3 separate regions of the Homo sapiens genome follow, and regions 1 and 3 are each linked to region 2. Evidence: promoter capture Hi-C in 16 types of primary human blood cells and fetal thymus (Javierre and others, 2016). All regions are on one chromosome and are shown on one strand. Each heading gives the region's core, a stretch centred on a gene start or on the middle of the fragment in contact. The rest is flanking DNA. Distances are from core to core; before and after follow the strand shown. Region 1 overlaps MTOR (mechanistic target of rapamycin kinase). Region 2 holds the start of MFN2 (mitofusin 2). Region 3 overlaps UBIAD1 (UbiA prenyltransferase domain containing 1).

The links. Contacts are between HindIII fragments. The CHiCAGO score rates a contact against its expected background, and 5 or more counts as called.
Region 1: a fragment that was not itself captured here is called in contact with the fragment with the promoter of MFN2 in region 2 in 1 of 17 cell types (total B cells); the score reaches 5.4 in total B cells.
Region 3: a contact is called between a fragment that was not itself captured here and the fragment with the promoter of MFN2 in region 2, in 2 of 17 cell types (naive B cells and monocytes). The highest score is 5.5, in naive B cells.

Annotation. Positions count from the first base shown.
Region 1 is chr1:11,221,278-11,224,834 of GRCh38, forward strand. The region is part of intron 19 of MTOR (mechanistic target of rapamycin kinase); the gene reads right to left. Among named protein-coding and RNA genes, the nearest start is that of ANGPTL7, 34 kb to the left of the region's middle. The HindIII fragment of the contact is 4,597 bases long and covers 1-3,557 here.
Region 2 is chr1:11,978,820-11,982,241 of GRCh38, forward strand. It overlaps MFN2 (mitofusin 2), which reads left to right and starts at 1,625. Exons shown (of 19, transcript NM_014874.4): 1 at 1,625-1,665; 2 at 3,151-3,295. RefSeq lists silencers at 1,241-1,500, 1,671-1,910 and an enhancer at 3,367-3,422. The HindIII fragment of the contact is 7,841 bases long and covers 1-3,037 here.
Region 3 is chr1:11,279,051-11,282,372 of GRCh38, forward strand. All of the region lies in intron 1 of UBIAD1 (UbiA prenyltransferase domain containing 1), which reads left to right. It also overlaps the pseudogene UBE2V2P3. Among named protein-coding and RNA genes, the nearest start is that of UBIAD1, 7.5 kb to the left of the region's middle. The HindIII fragment of the contact is 1,166 bases long and covers 1,476-2,641 here.

The sequences.
Region 1 (3,557 bases), core at 431-2,930, 760 kb before region 2:
AGCCACCACGCTCAGCCTAAATTTTTTGTAAACTCAAGGAAATTTCTAAAAATTGAAAATAAACAGAAACAAATGAGTATAACTATAAGCCAAGTTGGCTGCACAATCACTCAAGAAGAATATCAACTGAAAGTCTTAAACTACATTTAGTCATCTTATTGTTAATACTAACATTGGTCATTTTCTATTTACATCTATAAAATATATATATATGTATGTAATCTCACTAAAAGAAATCAGAGCTCCTTGGAAATGGCTATGCCCAGGTTTGAGTGAAATATACTTGATACGCTTGGAGTAATTTTTTTCCGCCAGAAAGCAAGAAAGTCTACCGGGCCATGTAAAAAGGACACAACAGCCAGGGTGATCAGGACAATCTGATTGTGAAAAAGATTGGTGCCTGCAATGAACAGAAATATTATATATACATATATATATAGTGTATATATACATATATATATTCTATATATATAGAAATACTCTATATAGAGAGCTCTGTTTCTTTTAGTGAGATTACATATATATATGTATCTTTCTTAAACACACAAGTAGTAAAGTAAATGACCAATATTAGTATTAACAATAAGATGACTAAATGACTTTCACTTGACAGTCTTCTTTGAGTGACTGTGCAACCAACTTGGTTTACAGTATAAATAAAGATAAATTATATATATATATGTATCTTCATGAGTTCATACTGATACTCCAAAGAATGAGGGTAGGATTGGGAGGTGGGAAGGTGCCTGGCTCACCTCTGAAAAGCTGTTAGAGGCTTGACTCATTATACTAAAAAATTGATAAATTGATAAATAAAGGGAAAGATTCATGCATGTATTCTGCTTTTCCTACATGATCTACACTTCAAATTACCTCAGTAGTTGATTATATAAAGTTCTTTTTTAAAATTTATTTAAAAAAAATTTTTTTTTTTTTTGAGACGGAGTCTCGCTCTGTCACCCAGGCTGGAGTGCAGTGGCCCAATCTCGGCTCACTGCAAGCTCTACCTCCCGGGTTCATGCCATTCTCCTGTCTCAGCCTCCCACGTAGCTGGGACTACAGGTGCCTGCCACCATGCCTGGCTAATTTTTTTGTATTTTTAGTAGAGACAGGGTTTCATCGTGTTAGCCAGGATGGTCTTGATCTCCTGACCTTGTGATCCACCCGCCTCGGCCTCCCAAAGTGCTGGGATTACAGGCGTGGGCCACTGCGCCCAGCCTAAAAAAATGTTTTAAATAAAATGAGATGGGGTTTTGCTATGCTGCCCAGGTTGGTCTTACACTCCTCCTGGGCTCAAGCAATCCTCTCAACTCAGCCTCCCAAAGTGCTGATATTACAGCCACCATGCCCAGCCAAGTTCTTTATTTCTAAAGAACTTTCTAGCTAATAAATCCAGAAGGAATAATCAAATTAGAAAATCACCATTTTGGGGCACATGTTCTCAGGAGCTCCTGAGAGATATGTCATGGAAAAAAACATTTTTTTTAATAAAAAAAATATATATATAAGTAAGAAAATCACCATTTTGCAGTCCCTAATCAAATAACAGCTCTAGGAAATAACTACCAATGAATGCTAAAATGACTGGGAAAAAGGCTGATAGGGAACTTTATAACAGATGGATCAGATGACAATATCCGAACCCACTGATCAGCCTTTACATCACTAGCAGTGGGTCATATGGAAAATATCTGTTTACTAAATGTTGAAATAGGAGGTATACAGTACTGTAATCTATGAAGTATCTCTTGTCAAAAGAACAGAACCTGAATCTAATCAAGCCTCTAAATCTAACTAGTTTATAGGAAATTAAGACACTTCGAAGATACAATCAGCCAAATCCAGTATGAGAAACAGGACAAATGACCTGGTTTCTTCTACAAATACATGACTTTTTTTTTTTTTTTAAGTAGAGGGAAAAGGTAAATAAGTAGTGAAAGAATTATATACATCAACCAAATGCCAGATGTAGACCTTATATAGATTTTTATTTGAATAAACCAAATTACAATGAATTTTTAAGACAATCAGGGACATCTGAAGAAGGGTTGGTATTAAATAATACTAAGAAATGATTGTTAGCTTTGTAGGTGTCATATTTGTGGTTACATGGGAAAAAGTATGTATTGGTGAAATAATATGATACCTGTAATTTGCTTTAAAATACTGCAGAAATGTATGTACATGTGTCGGGGGGAAAGGCGATGGAGGTAAGAGATAAAACCAAATTGACAAAATGCTAGTAATTACTGATGGGTATGTGAGAATCTAATATAATAGGTTGTCTACTATATTCATGATTGAAATAGTCTATTACAAAATGTTAAGAAAAATTAAAGGTGGCCAATGAGTGAAGGCAAAAGATGAAATAAAAAATAAAGGCTCAAACAAATCCAGAAAAAGACAAAAAAGAAAGATAAACAGACAAAGCAGGACAAAAAGAATGCACTAAGTAAGATGGTGGAAATAAACGCAAACATGGCCAGGTGCAGTGGTTCACACCTGTAATCCCAGCACTTTGGGAGGCCGAGACGGGTGGATCACTTGTGGTCAGGAGTTTGAGACCAGCCTGGCCAATATGGTGAAATCCTATCTCTACTAAAAATACAAAATTAGCTGGGCATGGTAGCATGCACCTATAATCCCAGCTACCTGGGAGGGTGAGGCAGGAGAATCACTTGAACCCAAGAGGCAGAGGTTGCAGTGAGCCGAGATCACACCATTGCACTCCACCCTGGCAACAAGAGCGATACTCCGTCTCAAAATAAAATAAAATAAAATAAAATAAAATAAAATAAAATAAAATAAATAGGCCAAATATAACAGCAATCACAATAAATGCAATTGGCCTAGAATGCACTGGTTAAAAGACAAACATTTTTAAATTGGATTAAAAAGATAATCTAGCTATATTTACAAGACAGCATCCAAAACAAAAAGTCACAAGACAGTTAAAAGTAAAAGAATTGGAAAAGACATATACCTCCAAAAAAAAGCTGGTACAGCTATATTAATGTTACGTAAAATACGTTTTAAGGTATTATTAAAGATAAGAAGGATTATTGCATAATGATAAAAGAGTCAACTTACCAGGAAGATATCAGGATTTAAAATTTGCATGCATCTAGTAATATAATCTCAAAGATACATAAAACAAGATTGACTAAACTATCAGAAAAAAGCCCACCAATGTAAAGGGAGATTTTTGTCTCACTTCTCTCAGTATTGATAGATCAAACAAACAAAAATTAGAAGGACACAAAAGATTTGAACACAATAAGTAATAAATTCAATCTAATGACTTATGTAAAACCCTGTCCATAACGTTAGCAAATACACAAGTATTCCCAAGGATATAGGAAATATTTATGAAAATCAATCAACCACTAGACCATTAAAGCAGTTCCAGCAAGCATGAAAGAATCATAAACACAATGCAATTAAGTTAGAAATCAATATAAAAAAGAGAAATTAAAAACCCTTTAAGTTTACAAATAAAATACCCACTTCTAAATAACTCAAGGGTAAAAGAAGAAATTCTAACACTGGAAAATATT
Region 2 (3,422 bases), core at 375-2,874:
ACTTATGTAATTTTAAATTTTCTAGTAGCGACATTTTTAAAAAGAAACAGGTGCAATTAATCTTAGTAATGTATTTAACCCAAATGACCCAAAATATTATCACTTCAACATGTAGTCAGCATATAAATAGTAATGGGCTAATAGCCCTGCACTGTGGCAGGTACCTGTAACCCGGCATTTTGGGAAGCCGAGGCAGGAGAAGATTGCTTGACTCCAGGAGTCCAGGAGTTCAGGACACCAGCCTGGGTAACAAAGTGAAATGCTTCCCCATGTCTACAAAAGATAAATACTAGGCATGGCTGCAGCATCTGTGGTCAGCTACTTGGGAGGCTGAGTGAGGTGGGAGGATTACTTGAGCCCAGGAGTTCGAGGCTGCAGTGAGCCGTGATTGCACCACTGCACTCCAGCTTGAGTGAGAGTGAGACTCTGGCTCAAAGATAGATTTTTTTTTTCTTTTTTGAGACGGAGTCTCTGTTGCCCAGGCTGGAGTGCAGTGGCATGATCTCGGCTCACTGCAACCTCCACCGCCCGTGTTCAAGCGATTCTCCTGCCTCTTCCTCCCGAGTGCACTATCATGCCTGGCTAATTTTTGTATTTTTAGTACAGACGGGGTTTCACCATGTTGGCCAGGCTGGTCTTGAACTCCCGATGCACCCGCCTCGCCCTCCTAAAATGCTGGAATTACAGGCTTGAGCCACCGCGCCCGGTCGATATTTTTTTTTCCTAAAAATTGAGATAGTTTAACAGCCTTTTTTGTCCTAAGTCTTATAGCGCATCTCCGTTTGCACTGGCTCAGGACTCGAGAGCCACACGTGGCTAGTGCCTACTGTTCTGGCGCGCTCAGGCTTGGAGCCTTCTCTGCGGAGGCCAAGTCCTGCAAGGGATCTGTTTGCTGCGGTTTCCTAGTAGTGTCTGCCGCATCACTGGGGCCCGGTGATCTGGGTAACCATGTGAGCTTGGGTAACCTCTCCTCTCCCTCTCCTGGGACTGCTGTGGACGTTAAATACAGCGGTGGATGTTAGAGACGCAGTTCAGTCACTGGCATTGATTCGCCGTTGTTGCTGCTCTTCTTTCCTCAAAGGCGACTGAAGGGCAGCAGGCCCATGCTCGCTTCTGTCTGCCCGATGAGTCACTTCACCCTAGGCCTGGCCCTCTAGAGAACACTCCTCTAAGATTACAGAATGCAAATCTGGATTCCAGAGCTGGCAGAGGCCCCAGGGTCAGGCTCTAGGACAACCGGCGAAAAAGCGGGAACCTCTACTCCACGCCCTTGGTTTTTCGCCCCTTGACAGCTTGAGGCTCCGCCCCGCTTTGCCCCGCCCCCCCAGCTCCGGCCGACGCCCACCGGAACTACAGCCCCCATGATGCAGTGGGAGTCCGAGCCTCTGCGTCGTCCGCTTGGGACGCGCCGGCGGAGGAGTGGCGCGCGGAGGAGTGGCGCGCTGAGACGCCGCTCGAAGCGCCGAGTCGCGGGGCAGCAGAGGCGTAAGGAGTAGGCGGGGCGAGCCGGCTGGGCTCAGGGTCCACCAGCTCACCCGGGTCGAGGGGCAATCTGAGGCGACTGGTGACGCGCTTATCCACTTCCCTCCTCCCGCCTCCCCCTGGGGTGGCGCTCGCTGGTGACGTAGTGAGTGTGATGGCCGCCGCGAGGCCGGGAAGGTGAAGGTGAGAGGGCGAGCAAGCCGGGGTGGCGGGGACTGGCCCGGCCCGGCCCGGCGAGTCCTGAGCAGCTCGGCGTGGGCCGACGGGATTCTGGGGCCACGGGGGTCTGGGATGCAGTCAAGCGGGGTCCCCACTCTCCGGCCTCGCCGCCGGGCCCTCCCCGGCCCTGAGAGGAGGGGGCGGGCCACGGGACCTGGGACTGGTCGGTGGGGTCCCCTGTAGCTTCTCATCGCCCCCGCCTTTCCACCCTTCACGGCCATGTTCTACCCCTGCCCCTTCTCTATTTTTCATCCTGTCTTCATTTTGCCAGCATTTACTCAGCACCTGATAGGTGTCCACGTTCACCGCGGGAGCGCCCTGCCATCCCCACTTTGGGCAGTTACTGCCTTCTCGTTCAGCCCTGTTTACTTATATGACTTCTCACCGGACTGTAAGGCCCTGGAGGGCAGGACTGTTTCTTATCCATTTCTAACGTGGCGCCTGACACACACAGAGAAGGCACACAGAAAATGTTGAATAAATAGCTGTTAAGACGCACGAAGGCAGAACTGCCCGTTACCCCCTCTCGTAATCCTTCATTGCCCTCTTTAAATTCTCAATCATCTCTCTCTCTTCTACCCAGAAAAGGGCTCTGGTTATCTCTTTTCTACCCAGAAAAGGGCTCTGGTTATCCGCCTCTGGTGTCCCAAGGTTTGGGGCTTGGGGGAGGAAGGCAGCTCAATGTAGTTAAAAAAGGAAGGAGGCCGGTCGCAGTGGATCACACCTGTAATCCCAGCACTTTGGGAGGCTGAGGCGGGCGGATCACCTGAGGTCAGGAGTTGGAGACCAGCCTGGCCAACATGGTGAAACCCCGTCTGTGCTAAAACCAAAAACTAGCCGGGCTTGCTGGCACACGCCTGTAATCCCATCTACTCAGGAGGCTGAGGCAGGAGAATCGCTTGAACCCGGGAGGCGGAGGTTGAGCCGAGATCGCGCTGCTGCACTCCAGGAGCTTTGGAGTCAAAGGGAGCTAATATTTCAGATCCCAGCTTAGACAAATCTTCAAGTATTCCAGCCCTCTGTCCCACAGAATAGAGAATTAAGTGAGATACTTTACAGTAGCTGAACACATTGGCTTTCAGTCAGTTCTTCTGTTCCTCAATAGTCAGCTGTTCCACAGTCCTCAAGCCCAGTTTTGTTCCTAGTTTTGCTCTGTCCTCTTCTCCCCTCTCTGGATGTACCTTTCCCAGGGCTCCTGCAGGGACCTCCGTGGTGCCTCAAACCCGCACATGGCGGAATACGTGTGCACAGTCAGGATTGGTCCCACACCTCTGCGTTTTTTTCCCCAGGGCACTTCCTCACATGCCAGCGCAACTCCCCAATACCTCAATGAGTAAGCTTCCCTCAGGGATGAGTTTGTTTGGCTTGAAACCTGATTAGACATGTTTTGTACACCAGTGTTTTTTTTTTTTGGACACCGGATCCATCTCCCTTTTCTTTTCTAATAAGTCAGGACTGGTGGAGTCAACACAGTCAATCAATAGCCAACCTCAACCTGAGACAGGACAGAAGAGAACTCAGAATCTTTTTGTCTTTTGGACTTCAGCCATGTCCATGATGCCTACCCTGTGAAGATCTCTCACCATCCAAAAAAGTAAGTAGTAGCTGTGACTTCTGGCACCCTGGATTTGAGCTGAGTGGACAGGGGTGTGCTCTCCTGGACCTCTGGTGGCAAGTCTCTTGAATGGCATCCTCTTTGTATAGAGCCACAGCTTTCTAAC
Region 3 (3,322 bases), core at 809-3,308, 700 kb before region 2:
AGATGAGGTTTCACTATGTTGGGCAGACTAGTCTCAAACTCCTGACCTCGTGATCTGCCCTCCTTGGCCTCCCAAAGTTCTGGGATTATAGGTGTGAACTGCCATGCCCGGCCTATATTCTCTTTTCATAATTTGTCCTTGGTGGCCCAATAATCATGCCTGTCCACCTTGTAAATGTCATATCTTCATCATCTTTAAGGCCCCAGTTAATCATACCATTGCCTATCAATAGCTGCATAAGCATAACTCAAAGGTTTTGACCTGAGAACTGGAAGATACCATCTGGAGTGATGTCATCATGTGAGAAGGGCAAGGCTGGGGATAGAACAAGTTTTGGGGGAAAAGCAAGCAATTGACTTCGTGGTTTTTTGTTTTGTTTTTTGTTTGTTTTGAGACAGAGTCTCACTCCGTCTCCCAGGCTGGAGTGCAGTGGCATGATCTCGGCTCACTGCAGCCTCTGCCTCCCGGGTTCAAGTGATTCTCAGCCTCCCAAGTAGCTGGGATTACAGGCGTCTGCCACCATGCCTGGCTAATTTTGTATTTTTAGCAGAGACGGTGTTTCACCATGTTGTCCAGACTGGTCTCAAACTCCTGACCTCAGGTGATCCACCCACCTTGGCCTACCAAAGTGCTGGGATTACAGGCATGAGCCACTGCGCCTGGCCAACTTTGGACATCTTAATGTCTATTAAATCTCCTAACAAAGATGTCAAATGGGTAGTTCAAGTTCAGAGAAGCCTGGGCTAGAGATTACATATCTGGGAGTCATTGGTCTATAGATAAAGTTGTAGGACTGGGTGAGGTCATCAAGGGGGAGGGAGTGTTGGTAGAAAAGTCAGTCCTGGTCTGAGCCCTGGGACACTCCCACATTAGAGGTGGGGGAAGAAAAGGCACAGGTAAAGGGGATGTGAGCAAGCATCCAGAGGAGTAAGAGGAAAATCAAAAGGCTGTGGTGGCCTGGCAGCTAATTATAAAAAGTTCAGTGAAGGAAATCAATGAGGTGGTGTAATAGAAAGTACAAGGTGGTGGTGAAGGGAAGAGGCTGTCTTTGTGAAAGTGACGTTCAAACTAGGACTTGAAGACGGAAGGATAAGGAGCTGGCCACGGGGTGGAATTGGAGTCTGATTGTGATGCTGAGTCCTCCAGGGCTGAAGGACCACTAAGTGCAAATGTGGTGGGTGAGAGAGAGTGTGACATTGGCTAGGATCTACTGAAAGGTCTGTGTGAGCCAGAGGGGGCATGAGACACAGTTGGTGAGTTAGGCAGGGTCTCTGTCATGGCGATCTTAACCAGTCCTACTCCCCAACCTCCAGGGCTCAGTCCTTGGGCCTCTTTTCTCTATCTCCATGTACTCCCTTGGTGATGTAGCTCATGGCTTCAGATGCCATCTGTTAAGCTAGTGACTCTTAAACTCCAGACTCATATCCAACTTCTTGCTCAGCAACTTCTCCTAGAACTGTCTCATAAACATCTCAAGCTTAACATGTCTGAGACCAAATTCTGATCTTCTCCCCAAGGAAACCTGCTTCGCCCACAGCTTTTTCCCCATTTTGCTCAATGGCAGCTTCATCCTAGTTCTTCAGGCCAAAAGCTGTGGGCATCGTCCTTGACTCCCACGTCTCACATCCAGTTCATCAGCAAATTCTGTTGACTCTCCTTTCAAAATGCATGTAGGATCTGACCACTTCTTACCGTGTCCAGCCACCACTGTGATCATCTGTCCCTGGATTTTTGCGGCAGGCTCCCAACTGGTCTCTTTACCTCTGTTCTGGTCCCATTCAGGCTGTTCCCACTCAGCCACCAGAGTAATTCTGTTAAAATATAGGGCAGCCCTGTCAGTCCTGCTTAGAACTCTTCAGTGGCTCCCATCTTGCTCAGAGTAAAGGCCAGGGTCTTTACAGTGACTCCCTAGGGCCCTACATTCTTTGCCCACCTTTTGCCCTCCCCCCAGTTCTCTGACCCACCCTCCTCCTTTCTTCCTGCTCATCCTGGGCCAGCCACACTGCCCTTTCTAGTCCAGGAGCATGCACAACCCCTCCTGCCCCTCCCTCAGGTCCTTTGTAGATGCAGCTTCCTCTGTTTGAAATGCTTTTCCTGCTTCTAACCATGTGGTTCACTTTCTCACTTCCTTCACCTATTTGCCCAAATGTCAGCTGCTCAGTGAGGCCTTGCTTTCTACCTTGCTTAAAATTACACACCCACTCCGTGCCCCCACCTGATACTTCCCCTGCTGCTCTTCTCTGCATTAGTTTTCCTCATAGCACATGTTACCTTCTAATGTGCCATATAAAGTACTTAATTGGTTAATTATCTTCCCCCTTCGACTGCGAGCTCCCTCCCTGCAGTCAGGGATTTCTGTCTCTGGTATTAGCTGAACCCCTAGCACCCAGAGCACTGCCTGGCATGTAATATTACTTAGTAAATATCCAGTGAACAAATGGGAAGGCATTGAAATATACTGAGCAGAGTAGTGACATAATCTGGTTTAAGATTTTTTAAACATTGTCTTTTATTGACATATAATTGACACACAGTGAAATGCACAGGTTTTTAGTGTTGCAGCTTGATGAATTTTGATAAATGTATACAGTTGCATAACCCACACCCCGTCATCATCCAGAACACTTCCATCACCCCCAAAAGCTTCCCAGTGCTTCTTGCCTGTCAATCCCACACTCCCTGCCCCCATCCAGAGACAGGAAAAGAACCACTGTTCTGATTCCTCTCACAGAGATTAGTTTTGCCTGTCATATAAATGGAACCTTTCACTATGAACTATGTATGTATGTATGTATGTGTATTTATTTCAGTCTGAGCTCTCGTCTGGCTTCTTTTGCTCAGCGTGATGTTTTTGAGATTCATTGTTTTATTGCGTGTATCAGTAGTTCCTTTTTTTGCTGACTAGCATTCCATTGTAACATACCACAACTTCTTTTTATCCATTCTCCTTTTCAGGGACATTTGGATTGCTTCCATATTTTGGCTATTACGTCTGAACATTCATGTTCAAGTCTTTTTGTGGATATTTGTTTTCATTTTTCTTGGGTAAATGCCCAGGAGTAGAATTGCTGGGTCACAGGGCAGATGATGTTTAATTTTATGAGAAACTGCCAAACTGTTTTCTGAAGTGGTTGTACTTCTTTACACTCCCCCCAGCAAGTGTTCCAGTTGCTCTGCGTCTTGCCAACTTTTTGACTTAAGTCTTAACAGATTCATTCTGGCTGCCGTGTGGAGAACCGGCCCAGTATTTCACTGTGTAAGCTCATTCAGAAAATGGGGTTGGGAGAGGAGGAATGCCTAAAAGGAAATTCCCAGATGGGCC